Regions from separate parts of the Homo sapiens genome. Here region 1 is linked to region 2. The links are contacts of gene promoters, found by promoter capture Hi-C in human tissues and cell types (Jung and others, 2019). All regions are on one chromosome and are shown on one strand. Each heading gives the region's core, a stretch centred on a gene start or on the middle of the fragment in contact. The rest is flanking DNA. Distances are from core to core; before and after follow the strand shown. Region 1 overlaps COBL (cordon-bleu WH2 repeat protein). Region 2 holds the start of COBL (cordon-bleu WH2 repeat protein).

Region 1 (7,018 bases), core at 1,146-3,645, 42 kb before region 2:
TTATCTGCAGGTAAAGACAACTTAATACTACACAAGTCCAGTCATTTCTCCCCCTCTCTATGTCTGCGTTTTCATCTATGGAACACAATACCAACAACAACAACAACAACAACAACAACAACAACAACAAAAACATCCTTCTCTTAAGGAATAAAAGTCAAATAATAGGGCATTGAAAAGTTACCTCAAAGCCAGGCGCAGTGGCTCATGCCTATAATCCCAGCACTTTGGGAGGCCAAGGTAGGAGGATCACTTGAGGTCAGGAGTTCAGGATCAGCCTGGCCAACATGGTGAAACCCCACCTCTACTAAAAATACAAAAATCAGCCGGGCATGGTGGCACATGCCTGTAATCCCAGCTACTTGGGAGGCTGAGGCAGGAGAATCGCTTGAACCTGGAGGCAGAGGTTGCAGTGAGCTGAGATCGTGCCACTGCACTCCAGCCTGGGCAACAGAATAAGACTCCATCTCAAAAAAAAAAAAAAAAAAAGAAAAAGAAAAGAAAGTTATCTCAAAATACAAAGCTGCATACTTTGTGAATTTTTAATGTATATTCTAGCTTGTTACAAAGGTTATGTGTGGTGAACAGTAGCTACCACTATCTAAAATTCCTCATTTACCAAAAAACAAAAACAAACCCATATCTGCAGTGACATTCCTAAGGAAGTCATCATTGACATCAGGGAATGAAGCCTTGAAGCTGACTTACCTTGTGACACCTGCTTCTGCCGTTAGACTGAAAATTAGTCCTCAATCATCAGCTCTTGCCTGTCTGAGTGACTGGACAGCTACATCTGCAGCATATTTATAGCAGCTGGATCTATCTGGCATTTAAAACTCAAGATTCTAAAAATGAATGACAAGTTCTACCAGAGAGACAAACTAATTTTACCTATTTGAAAATAGCTAACTTGCCTAAATTGTTCAATAATTAAATACAATTCCCAAAATACTTAAACACTTCAGTGTTTTGGGAATGCCAACGCCTCATAAAACCTATTTTAGGTGTTTATATTTTGAAGTGTCATCGAACCGCCACAGTTCACGTACCCAGTGCTGTTTTCTCTGGTGACGCCAACTCCCCCTGTAGCAGTTGGGTCCCCCTCACCCATCAAATGCGATCTTCTTCAGTCATCTGTTCTGGGCTCTCCTCCCTTCCCTGTAATGCTCTCCTTAGACCACAGGACATCGTAGCCTCGAATACCACCATGCTCACAGTTCCCCCCAGTCCATGCCTTAAGTGAGGCCCTCGCTCCCCTTCCCCAGCACAGGACCTGCAGCTGCCAGCTGTGCATCGCATGGGCCGCCTCCCGCTTCACTCCCCACACGGTAGACACACAGCACTTCAAACTCACACCCAGCCTTGCTGCAACGCCTTCCCTCCCAAACACACCTTCCCTCCCAAACACACTGCACATGACCCTCACTGCTCGCAGGAGAAGAGCACCCTGTCCTTTGTCCTCCAGTGCTGACTGTATCACCGCCAAAATCTTGAATGTGTCCTCCTGGGCATGGTCCTGAGGCAGCTCTAGGTGAGCTCCCCTTCATCTGTTTGTCTCATCAACACAACAGGCTCCTGACTGCATTCCACTTCTTAGTCTTTGCTTTCAAAGAAACCAGCCAAGCTGACCATTCATTATCCATGAAAGAAGGAAAGAATTGTACCCCACAGAATGGATGTCTGGTGCTGGGCAGAGAAGACCACTTTTTCACAGATGCAGTGACTTTACTATGGAAGGCTGAGCCTCAGGAGCTCAGCTGAAATACTCTAGCCCATCATTAAGCACACTTTTGTGCGTAGGCTCAAAATGTCCTTTCCTATTTGTGCAGTGGAGGATTTTCATTCAATAAATGACTTTCATATGAAAACTCCAAGTTCAGGGATGCCATGCCTTGTACAACAGACGTATTCTAGAAAACAACAGTGTAAGTATTAATTTTTGTAAACCAGTCATGTTTTAAAATATAAGATAGAAGATCAGCATTTGGGAATCTGAGATACTTTCAGGGTTTTCTGAGATACTTTCAGTAAAAAGAATTCTCTGATAGCAATCATTTGATTTGATTTTTAGGTCTGCATATGTACGCACATGGCTTTGTCTGAAGTGGGAAACACCGATATTAACAAATTAAAATACAAATCATCTGGCCGTGCAATTCAACTCTTTGCTGCCTGAACCTCCATCTTCCAGGGAGACAGAGCAGTGAGAAGCAACAAAGACAGGGCTGAAGAGGACGGGAGAGGCTCAGGACAGGTGAGGGACGCACGTGGAGCCGCTCCATGTTTGTTCTGCTCTGCACATGAGAGAGAGGGGTCACCCCTGCGGGCTGGAGGGGAGAGGCCCAAGGGCTGGCTGTGGAGGGGACAGTTGCACAGTGTCCAGGCTGCCCTCCTGCAAAGGACCTGAGGGAGAGGCAAGAACAAGGCTGATTTGTATCCAAATTTTGAGGCACAAGTCCCCTCCATCCTCCTGGTTTTTTCCCTCTGCCAGTAATGCTGTGCGAAATTGAAGAAAGTTCTATGTCAAGGTTCAGTACTCCCTTTTTACAACGAGGATTTGTTTTTGATTGCTGGGGAACCACTGCCTCCAGTTCTGTCTGACAGGGCCTGGCTGTTCTGAGATCCCAGCTCCACGGCCACATGTGGTCACCGCAGCCCATGCAGAGCAGGTCTGGGGGGAATTCTCCCCTGGGTCTCTCTCAAGGCACCCTCAGCAACAGTGCACTCCAGCTCCACCTGCCACCACCACCACCGCCACTGGCATCAGCTGCCACCAGCCACCACCAGCCGCCACCAACCACCACCAGCCGCCACCAGCCACCACCAGCCGTGACTGCTCTTGTGAGCTCCGCACGCAGCCCACCCAGGAGGCCTGTCCCAACAACGGTGAAAACACAGAGCCCAGAAGGCTGGCGATTCCACCTTCCCCTCACAGTGGAAAATCAAGGCCCCTGTCTCCATGCTGATTGATGAGAATGTTTCCACAGCCTGATTAGGGGCTGTAGGCCTCTCTCTCCCCTGCTTGTTTTCTTTTCCTCTGACCTGCTCTGCCGGGGTTTTGTGAGGTTGTCTGTTTTAATAAAGAAGCCCTTATCTTCCTTATATTTACTCTTCAATGGAAATGAGCCTCATCCTTTTTCCTACAAAAGCCCTTTGGCTTTTCTAAATGATAAACATTGGGGGAAGAATTGTTTGAAGAAACAAATATCAAGCTCATAAATGAAAATGTGCACTGAGGCTCTGGGACCATGCAACTTCTTCTGTTTACAATAACACAGGAATTCTAAGGAGCCCATTTTAATTGGCATTCACAGATATGGGCTGGGTGACAGCACTCATGCACAGCACATTTTGAAGCTGTTCTCAGACATTTCTTAATCCATGAGTAACTGTTTCAGGGAGGCTGGGGACTGTCGTGGCAGTAAAAGGCAGCAGCACCAAGAGCTATGTAAGTTGGTCCTGCTGTGGCTTCCTGGGAGCCCTGTCCTGGGGTTCCTTCTGGGAAAGGCGAATGGAACCTGAGCTTCTATGAAAGGAGTCACCCTGTGGAAGCTCCTCCGGCCGGGGACGGGCCATACCCAGGGACTGCACACAGGTGGCCTTGCCTGCCACAAGCCCTATCCACTGTGGGCTTTCTTGCTTTTCAGGCTTTTCCTTCCCCTCTTGATAATGCCAGTCCTTGTCATTTATCGTTCAAACCTTCCACAAGCTTTAAGGAACACCTCCAACCCGCCAGGGACTGCACAAGGTGTGGGGGATGAAAGGAGACACAGACACAACCCACTGCCCGCAGTAAACACTGCCAGGGCTGAGCTGGGGTGGCTGGGAGCTGCAGCTGTGTGGGGCAAAGGGGAGATGTGAACAGGCCTTGCAGAGTGAGCAGGCAGGTAAGAAGGAAGACACCTCCAGGAGATGGGAGGAAAACCCAAGGGCATTCTGGAAAGCTGGACGCTGGTGTTGGCTGGCCCTTAAGGGTGCCTGGGCCCAGAAAGGGAAGAGTTCAGAGGTGGCTTTTACCATACAAGGGAGAGGAGTCAGCTGAGGCTCATAAGATTTGACCAGCTAAGAGGTGAAATGTAGGAGAGGGCACCACAGAAAAGGAGATGCATCTGGGAGCAGCGAACACACAGATGGTGAGGGCCAGAAGACAATGACACAGCCCTCCTGTCCTCACACCAGCTCCACTGAGGCCCCATCATCAACCTCTACCAAAGCAGCACCTGGAGGAAAGGATCACAGGCCAGTCATCCTTCCCAGAGCCAGGCCAGGGATGCTCATTGCCAAGGCACAGAACAAGGCCTTCCCTGTTTCCATGACGGCCACACATGCGCAGGGACCCAAGCCAATGACCGACTAAGTTAAAATGGGCTAGGTCTGCTCTCACGGAAGCCTGAGGGTGAGTTCATGAATATGTGTGCCTTGCTCTAAGAGAGAAGGTATGTGTGTGCATCTGTGTGTGTGCATGTGTGCATGCAGAAGTGTAAATACACACATGTGCTTGTGAGGGAAGGAGAGAGAGAATAGAGCAAACACACCTGTTAACATCTGTGGCATCTAGCTGAAGACGACGTGGGAATTCTTTGTTATTCCAAAATAAAAAGTTAAAAAATATATCTTTAAAAATTGACGACAGGACTGTTGAGCACACAGTGGTAATCTCTCTCTGATACTTCAGCTCACACGCAGCAAGAGTCGGTGCCCTCATCCCGCCCACCCGACTTTGGGCTAATTCATGGTGTGTATATTAGACACTAACAAATAGCAAGTTGGACAGCGGGCTAGAGGAAGGGATGGACGGGCTGCTAGAGAGATACAAGGGTGGAATACTCTGCCCATTGTAGTTTCTACACTGCCAAATGGAGGTGGTAACAATGCCGCCCCTACAGTGTTGCTACAGGGATCCAGCACGGCAGGGCATTGTGAGAGCAGGGGGCACAGAGCCAGGTAAGAACACTCAAGAGGCACAGCAGATGGACAGACAAGTCATGTCACTTGTAGCCCAGACTCTCTAAATACTTTCTGACCACCCAACAATATTCCCAAGCTGCCTCTGAGGAACTAGCAAGTAAGAGAGGACATATCTGTCAACATCATAGGGCAGATTCATTTCGTTATTTACTGATCTCTTCTCTGTGCCTGCGTGAAGTACAGCAGAGAGACACAACAAATCAACAGCGGGCCCCTAGGGACGTCTCAACTACAATCATCTCTCTGAATCATATCTCTGAACTAAAAACATAGTGGCCAGCCTTGAGTGCCAGCTCTGCAAATACTAGAACGCAATACCCGTATCAAATGATAAATAAATTTAGAAGCTCCACATTCACAGAGACTCCCACACACATGCACACCAAACAGGGTGAATCTAATCTGGAGATTAGCTGAATTGAGAAGCCGTCCCAAGGAAGAGCATGCTCAGTGAGAGCCCAGAGCCAGGTGGACAAGGCACCCTCATCTATGATCATGCAGGCCCCTCCTCCCAGCTGCCTGGGGAGACAAGCATGCTATATTTAGACAGGATCTTTTTTTTTTTTTTTTTTTGAGACACAGTCTCACTCTGTCGCCAGGCTGGAGTGCAATGGCGCGATCTCGGCTCACTGCAACCTCTGCCTCCCATGTTCTAAGTAATTCTCCTGCCTCATCCTCCCAAGTAGCTGGGATTACAGGCGTGTGCCACCACGCCCAGCTAATTTTGTATTTTTATTAGAGTCGGGGTTTCACCATGTTGGCCAGGCTGGTCTCGAACTCCTGACCTCAGGTGATCTACCCACCTCAGCCTCCCAAAGTGCTGGGATTACAGGCGTGAGCCACGGCACCTGGCCTAGACAGGTTCTTGACTCAAGCCTCCAAATCCAGGCAGTGATAGACCAGCCCCACCATGTGCCCTTCTACCAAAAGCAAAAATAACAGCACACTTTTTTACAGTATGAAAATGACACCAATCATCTAGAGAACAGGAAAATTAAAATCCCCCAACGTGTAGCATCTGCTTTTCCAGACGATTTCAGTTTGGAGATAACTGTCAATTACAGGAACAACAAAACTACAAAACACACCCAGCACAATGCACATTGTGACTAATCACAGCACCCACGCAGCAGGCGGCAGGTGGCCGGGGAAATGCTTTTCTCCTAAGACACTTGCAGTCCTGTAAGGAGTGATACAGCTGTTGTCATACTCAAATTACCATCAGGGCCTGCCCTGTGTACTAGTCCTGCACTGACAGTGAATAATCCTATGGCTTGGCTTTCTAAAAACCCAGTGATACACAGAGAGGCTGCCTGACAAATGTATGGGAAAGGCGTGGCACACATTTTAAATTCATCATGAAGTTTCAGCATCTTTCAAAGTAGCTACACTAAATCCCTGGTCATAAGGGATATAATCCCAAAAATGTATGGAAGAAGCTAATTAAGAGAGCCATGACTAACTACTAAAGACTAAAGGGAATGGGTGGCATTTACTCCATGTACTTCCAACGTGCATTATACTTTCTTTAATAATTCTGTTTCCTCTTTGTTATTAAATAAATCACCTGAAATTTTTAACTATATTCACCAGGTTCTCCAATTATTTTAATATGAAATCAACTGGCACATTTTTCTAAAATAGACTTTTTTCTTTTAGCAGTTTTAAGTTCAAAGCAAAGTTGAGAGGGAGGTGCAGAGATTGCCCGTATTCCCTCTGACCTTACACATGCAGAGCCTCCCCGACAACCCACGCCCCACCAGACTGGAACATCTGTTGCCACTGATGAACCTCTGTGGACACATTATTATCACCCAGCGTCCACAACCTACATTAAGGTTCACCTGTGGTGTCGCACATTCTGTGGGTTAGGACAAATGTACAATGACACGTATTCATCATCATAGTATCATACAGAGTATTTTCATTTCCCTAAAAATCCTCTGTTCCTGCTCTTTCCCCCTCCTGACCCCTGGCAACAGCAAACACTGATCTTATCTTGCCTTTTCCAGAATGTCACAGAGTTGGAATCATACAGCATGTGGCCTTT
Region 2 (6,465 bases), core at 2,252-4,751:
CACTACCAAGAGTCACAGGCCTTCTACACTTAATACTATGTGCGGCACCGACAGGACTAGAGTAGCTCAAGTTACCCACTTCGATTAATTTTTTAAAATTTCTTTTGGTTCTAATAACTTGATTAAATAAATATAAATTTATGCAAAGAAATGAATAACAGCTATGTGTACATGAAGTCCACATTTTGACGAAACTGATTAGCAAAACTTCCACTGATTTTTACATGAGCAAACTGCTTGAATACAGCCATTGATCAAATGCACCAGCTGTTTTGACATTTCATGTCATTGGAGATTACTGTATTCTACAGAAACATGTCTTTCCTCCATAGGAAAAAAAAAATTAAGCATGGTCCTGCCAAACAGCAAGCCTTCTTCTGTCCTTTATTAACAGAGGGTCCAATGGGAAATTTAGCCCTGTGTTCTGTAACAGCCGACTACTGGGATGGCTCCTATAAATATTCAGACAAACGCAAAGTAAACAGATAAAGTAGAGAGTTAAATATACTTCAAAACCTCACCAAAAGGCAATTTGCCTTTACTTGTGTTCTGAGTATTCTGTCAATTCTTATACTTCAACTGAGCTCTAAAACTCCCTAAAAGTCACATCAAGTCTGACTTGTTAGTTTTTGCACACAGCCTCTTTCCTAAAAGAACACTTTCCCCAGGAGTCAAGGAAGTCATACATCACTGTTTTAATGAAATTCCTAGTAAAAAACATACAATTTCAATCCAAGTAAAAACGTATATTTGTGTTTTTCACAAAGATAACTAATAACTACCTGTTAATAATTTAGCCAGACACAGAGTCAGTGAGTTTACATTCACCAACCTATCTCCCTTCAGTAATCTTCTAGAAGAGCGTTTGTAGGCCACAGGGTGAAATCTCGTTAATTCACTGCACCCAGTCTAGCTTGTTTCTATACAACACAAGGAGGAGTGGTAGTTTCAGCAACAGCAACAGCTTCACCACATCAGTTTGTTATCATGTGGGAAGACAGAGGCTTACTGAAAGTTTGATTTTATAATAAACGGTTGCAGAATCAGATGGAAAACAAATTTCCCTCAAGCACACTGCAAACACTGCCTTAATCTCAGGGAACAGAGGAGTAATCTCAGTGAAGAGCCAACAGAATCTGCCTGCCACCAATAATGTACTAAAGCCACAAATTTCACAGCAATATCTAACCTTTATAATTAGCAAGCATACACCTAAATTATATAAAATATTCGAAGACCTAACACCATTTATCTCCTCAGATTTGAACACAAAATTGCTTATTAAACACGTAATTCTTGTCTGAAAAAATATAAGGATATTAACATTTTCTTGATGCTTCTTCACTGAAAGTATTAACAAATGACAAAGTGAGAACAATAGAAGTTAAAAATAATATGTCTACATTTCTTGGACAAAGATGTTCGGACAAGTAAATTAGACACTGGATATGAGTGAGGGAAAGAACTGAATGCATCAGGAATAATTTCATGTTTTCCATAGCAAAAATCCTTAGTTTTACTTTGCAATTCAAATATGAAAGCCAATCAGAGCTCTGGGAAGCCCTGAGAAGGCCAGCCCTCGACTACCTCTTGCCACACAGTACCAGGCTGAAAAGAGTGCCACGCTCTTAGGGTAAGTCCTTTCACTTCTATCATTAGACTCCCTTCAAGGATCTTACAGATACTCTTTGGATACAGTTTTGCCGGCCTTTTAAATGTTCTCTCTGTCTTCATATTTATTTATAAGGTGATAGTGACAAAATAATTCAGTGTCCTTAAATAGGCTCATTTAATAGGCTATGAAAGCCACAGATTTAAAGATACCTCTGTTTCACATTTCCCTGTTATTTTGGGATGCCTATTACCATGAAAAAGGATTTCCCACATTTACTTTCTTTCTGGGGAATTTGTTTGTTCAAAGAGAATTATATAACCACCAGTAAGTGCACTGCAAAAAAAAAAAAAGAGAGAGAGAAAGAAAACTTCTTTTTAACATTCCTCAGCTTCAGGATTATTTGATTTGCTAACCTGGCTCACCTTTTCCTGGCATTAAAGGAAAACTTTAAAATTTTAAAAAGAGCCCGACTGAAAGTCTTTTACACACTTGGGCAACACGCCCGCCTATGGGCACATGGGCAGGGTGAGTCAGTGGGACACAACTGTAACAGAAAAAAAGATTTGTTGTCCCCAAAGCTGCCTCCTTCAAGTCCAGTTGCCATAGCAGAAAGTGGGCCCATTCAGTAAGCAGGTGCAGGGCTCACCCCAACCCTCATTCCATTTGCAAGACTCATACACATTTGCTCCAGGCGAGCGAGCGAGTTCGAAGGTCCCCGGCGCGCCGCGCTGAAAACTACAAAGTCCACCGGGACTGCGCGCTACCCCGCGGCCCAGCCTGCACCGCTGGCCGGGATGAGCACGGCGCACCTGGCTCGGGGTCTGAATAATGAGCAGGGCTGCTCGTCCTGTTTGAGGGAAATTACTCTTTCTGAGAGTCAAATCCTGAATGTGACGTGTAATCCCTGCACGCAAGGTGTGGGGATAGCAAACAGAAACCGGGAGAGGTTTGGGCAAAAGCGGAATCGCGAAGACAGGGATGGGCCGCCAGACTCGCGGGTCCGCTACGGATGTCTGCGCCTCAGGCCTGGCCCCACTAGGACGCCCCTTCCACTGCCAGGGGAGACCCTGGAATAAAGGCAGGGAGGGAGAGCTGCTGCCATGAAACCCTCCGGGCAATCCGAACACCTTCCGAGAACGCGGGGCCCGGGCGGCTGCGAAGCCGGGGAGCCCTCCCCTCCACGCTGCCGGGAGAGCCGATCCTGGGGCTGCCGCCGAGGCCGGGAGAGGGAAGACTTGATGGGAACCGGCCAGGGGCAAGCCCGCAGGGAAGAGGCCGGAGTCAAAGGCCGGGCGTCCCCTCGCTCCCCGCTCCACCCCTACGGCAAACACTTGGGGGGCCTGAGGAAAGCTCGGAGCTGAGTGGGGGCTGTGCTGGCGGGGACCCCCATAAGGACGCCTGCATACAAACCACCCCGCGCGAAAAGTGCGCTCCGGCCCCGGCCCGACACGGTTACCTGGGCAACGACCCGGGTGCCCAAAGTACACAGCACGCACCACCACCCAACACCAGCACCCAACACCAGCACCGCACCACCTGCTCCACCACTACCACCAGCACCCGCTGGGGCGGCAGAGAGGGCGCCCTGCCCGGGAGCGCGCGGTGCGGACGCGGGCGTCCGAGCCCAGGGAAGCCCCCTCTCCACCCCGCCCGACCGCGGGGCCGCTTACCCGGTCGGGGGCTTGGCCGCCGAGGCGCGCGGCGCGTCCATGGTGCCGGGGGCCGGGACGCGGGCGGTGCTCCGGGCCCGCCGAGTCAGGCGCTGGCTACCGCCGCCACCGCTGCCGCCCTCATTCACTTTTTCCGCGCTGACCCATCGTCCTCCCACGCGGGCCGGCGGAGGACAGCGGCGGAGCGCGGCGGACGGAAGGGGCTGGAATCGTCTCTAGCGGGCGGGGGCGCCGGGAGCGCAGGGAGGGGCTGGCGGCGGCGCGGGGCGGGGGCGCCGGGAGCAAGGTGCGCCGCGCCCCCGCCCCGGCTGCTCTGCCGCGCCCACCGGAGCGCCGCCCCCGCCCCGCCCCGCCCCGCCTGCTCAGAGTCCCGACCCGGCCCGCGGCGAGCGTCCGGGGAAGGAATCCTCCGGCACCTGGGCCCTGCACCGACACCCGCGGGTGCGGCAGAGGGCTTCTCCCCGTGCTCCTCCACCCCTGGGGGGAGCGCGACCCTCTCTGGGCGGAGTGGGGGATCCCGGGGCCGGCGCCTCCTGGCGGAGTTGGGGGAGGGGAACCACCTGGAGCCTGGAGGCCGTGCGAGGGCGAGGTGGGCGGACCAGCCCGGGAGGACTGACGTTGGAGGGTGAGAAGTGAGTGTCCGGCACCGCTCTCTGACCTTTATCCGTGCAGCAAATGTCTAGTGCGTAGGGTCGCAAAGTGGGAGTCCCGACCGGGAGCGTCAGGAACACCTGGGAACTTGTTAGAAATGCAGATTTCTGGGGCCCACCAGGTCCCACGGAATCAGAAACAGTGCGGGCTGGAGCGCGGCCTCGCTTTGCTAACAACTCACTCGCTCTAGGTGAATGCTCGCTTAAGTTTGCCAACCTGATTCACTGGGCGCTACTGTGGCACAACCCTGCCACTCCAGTGCGGGCTGGCGGGCAGATATGCAGGTCCTGCCGGCCACGCCGGGGCCCAGAGCAAGTCAGCCAGAGGTCCCTTATCTGCCCAACTTCACCTCCACTCTCTAAGATCTTGGTTGGTATGATGGGCTGACCTATAAAAGTGGCAGTTTCATATGGTTTCAATGACTCGAATAAAAGACCAACAAGAGGCCAGATCGGGCGAGCCTGATAGCGTTGGGGGTGACGCTCCCCTTGCGATCTTGTCATTGGATGAGGTATCCAGAGGCCTGCGCAGCCTTCCTCCCTCTGATCCCCTGCTTTCTCATTAACTGAAGGGGGGGCAGACCAGTCTATATGCAAAATGTGAGTCCTTACTCGTGGCTGGCAGATCTTGGGTGCTCCCTGCTCCCACCTAGAAGGTTTCCTAAGTCCCCAGGTGGCCCTGGGGCTCACTTCCCTGCAGCCCAGCCTCCCATGAGTGGAGCGCTTTCCCGGCTCAGGGCCTCTGGCTGGGATGCTGCTCCACAGTGCTCTTCCTCCTCCTTTTCATCCCGTGGTCTCCCCAAGGAGCCTTTCCTGGCCTCTCTGTCTAAAAGCACCCTGCGGAGCACAGTGGCTTACACCTGTAACCTCAGCACTCAGGGAAGCCAAGGCCGGAGGAGCAGTTGAGCTCAGGAGTCGGAGACCAGCCTGTGCAACCTGGGAGAACTTTCTACAAAATAAAAAAATTAGCGGAGCATGGTGGCACACACCTGTAATCCCAGCTACGGGGCGGGGCGGCGAGTGGGGAGCAGGCTGGACAATGGAGTGAGATCCTGTCTTAAAACACAAAATAAAAGCAGCTCTCACTCAAGCTCCTGACTGCTGCCTTGTCCTAATTTTCTTCTGAGCATTTGTCACTGTATGTGTGTGTGTATGTGTGTATGTGTATATATATATGTGTGTGTGTATATGTGTATGTGTGTATATATGTGTGTGTTTATATTTAAATGTAAGTTTATAAAGAAATGTTTACATGTAATGTGTTATATTTATAGACATGTTTATATGAATGCATAAAATTTGTATTTATGTAAACTTATAAATATGTATATACATTATATATAAATGGAATAAAAAACATAAATAACATATCCTATTCCGCATATATTTTGCTCATGTGTTTGCCATTGGTCTCCTCCCTAGCATGTGATCTTAGCAAGCGCTGGGCCTTTGTCTGATTTATCACCCCCAGCATCTAGGGCAGTGCCTAGCAGGGTGGAGTCAGTGCTCAGTAAACAAAGGGTGCACTGAATGAATGAATCTCTTCTTGCACCTTGGGTGTGGGTATTAGAGAGTCTCTCCCAAAATCTGGGGAGCCCCTCCTTGCTCTGGACACCACCATGGGAAGGGCTGCCCAGGAGGGGCCAGAGCTGAAAACTAGACTAGGCACTGTGAGCCAGACCCCATTGAAATCCCTAAGGAGAAGTCCACCTCACAGGTGACACATACTCCAAGCACCTGGCAGAGGCAGCAAGAGGAAGTATGGTGGGGACATGGAGCAAAAGAAGCCCGGAGTGACCCAGTGTCTCAGATGCTGAGCACAGATGGCAACAGGAAGCCCGAAGCAGGTGGATGGTGAAGAGTAAGAGAGCTCCTCAACATCCAGAAAAACAATGAGAAGGAGGTGACGTGCCACCTCCAGGCCAAGATGCAACTTGCTGTTCTAGGAAAAAGGCCCAGGTGACCCTAGGCCTGGACAACCTCAGATCCTTGGAAGGCCCCCAGACATCTACTCAGAAACCCAACAGGGACCAGTTTCCAGAAATGAAGTGGAGGGTTAAGCCTGGTTAGAGCTGTCAGGATGAGACACAGAGTAAAGGTCAGACTTCTGCCAGAGGGAGGAGCTTCACGCTGTGACCCAGGGCCTGCAATCTAAATGGGCCAGGACTGCCGATCACTTGTGTCAACTGTGGGGAGGGGCACAGAGCCTGGGGGGGCAGGCGGGGCCTAGGACCTGATCAGATTCTGTGCATATTGCCACCCACACTTCCCTGACTGATAAGGGCCCCAAGAGATGCAACTGTGGGGAGTTGTTTTCCAAAATTGTATAGTTCAACAGATATTTCTGAGCATCTACTGTATGCCAGCCTTTGTCTGCGGTGTGGATGTGGCCACCTCATAGGGAGGGCTAGGCAAGGAAATCAGTAACAGACAGGGCTGAGCTCTTCCAGACAGACAGTGAGAAAGAGGAATAGGTGATGGGCTGAAAGCAAAGGGCTGAGTGGGGCCTTGTAGAGGATGTCACCAAGAT

What was found. The method cuts DNA at HindIII sites, captures the fragments that hold promoters and counts their contacts. A contact is called where the count stands out against the background at its distance.
Region 1: a contact is called between a fragment that was not itself captured here and the fragment with the promoter of COBL in region 2, in 3 of the 25 tissues and cell types used here (dorsolateral prefrontal cortex, hippocampus and liver).

Annotation. Positions count from the first base shown.
Region 1 is chr7:51,272,858-51,279,875 of GRCh38, forward strand. All of the region lies in intron 1 of COBL (cordon-bleu WH2 repeat protein), which reads right to left. Among named protein-coding and RNA genes, the nearest start is that of COBL, 40 kb to the right of the region's middle. RefSeq lists enhancers at 811-1,312, 1,313-1,812, 2,248-3,244. The HindIII fragment of the contact is 6,486 bases long and covers 1-5,638 here.
Region 2 is chr7:51,313,308-51,319,772 of GRCh38, forward strand. COBL (cordon-bleu WH2 repeat protein) reads right to left here and starts at 3,502. Exons shown (of 13, transcript NM_015198.5): 1 at 3,286-3,502. The coding sequence starts at 3,326. LOC124901633 (a long non-coding RNA gene) reads left to right here and starts at 3,677. Exons shown (of 2, transcript XR_007060324.1): 1 at 3,677-3,917; 2 at 4,740-5,025. RefSeq lists enhancers at 3,760-4,353, 4,354-4,946. The HindIII fragment of the contact is 18,220 bases long and covers 1-6,465 here.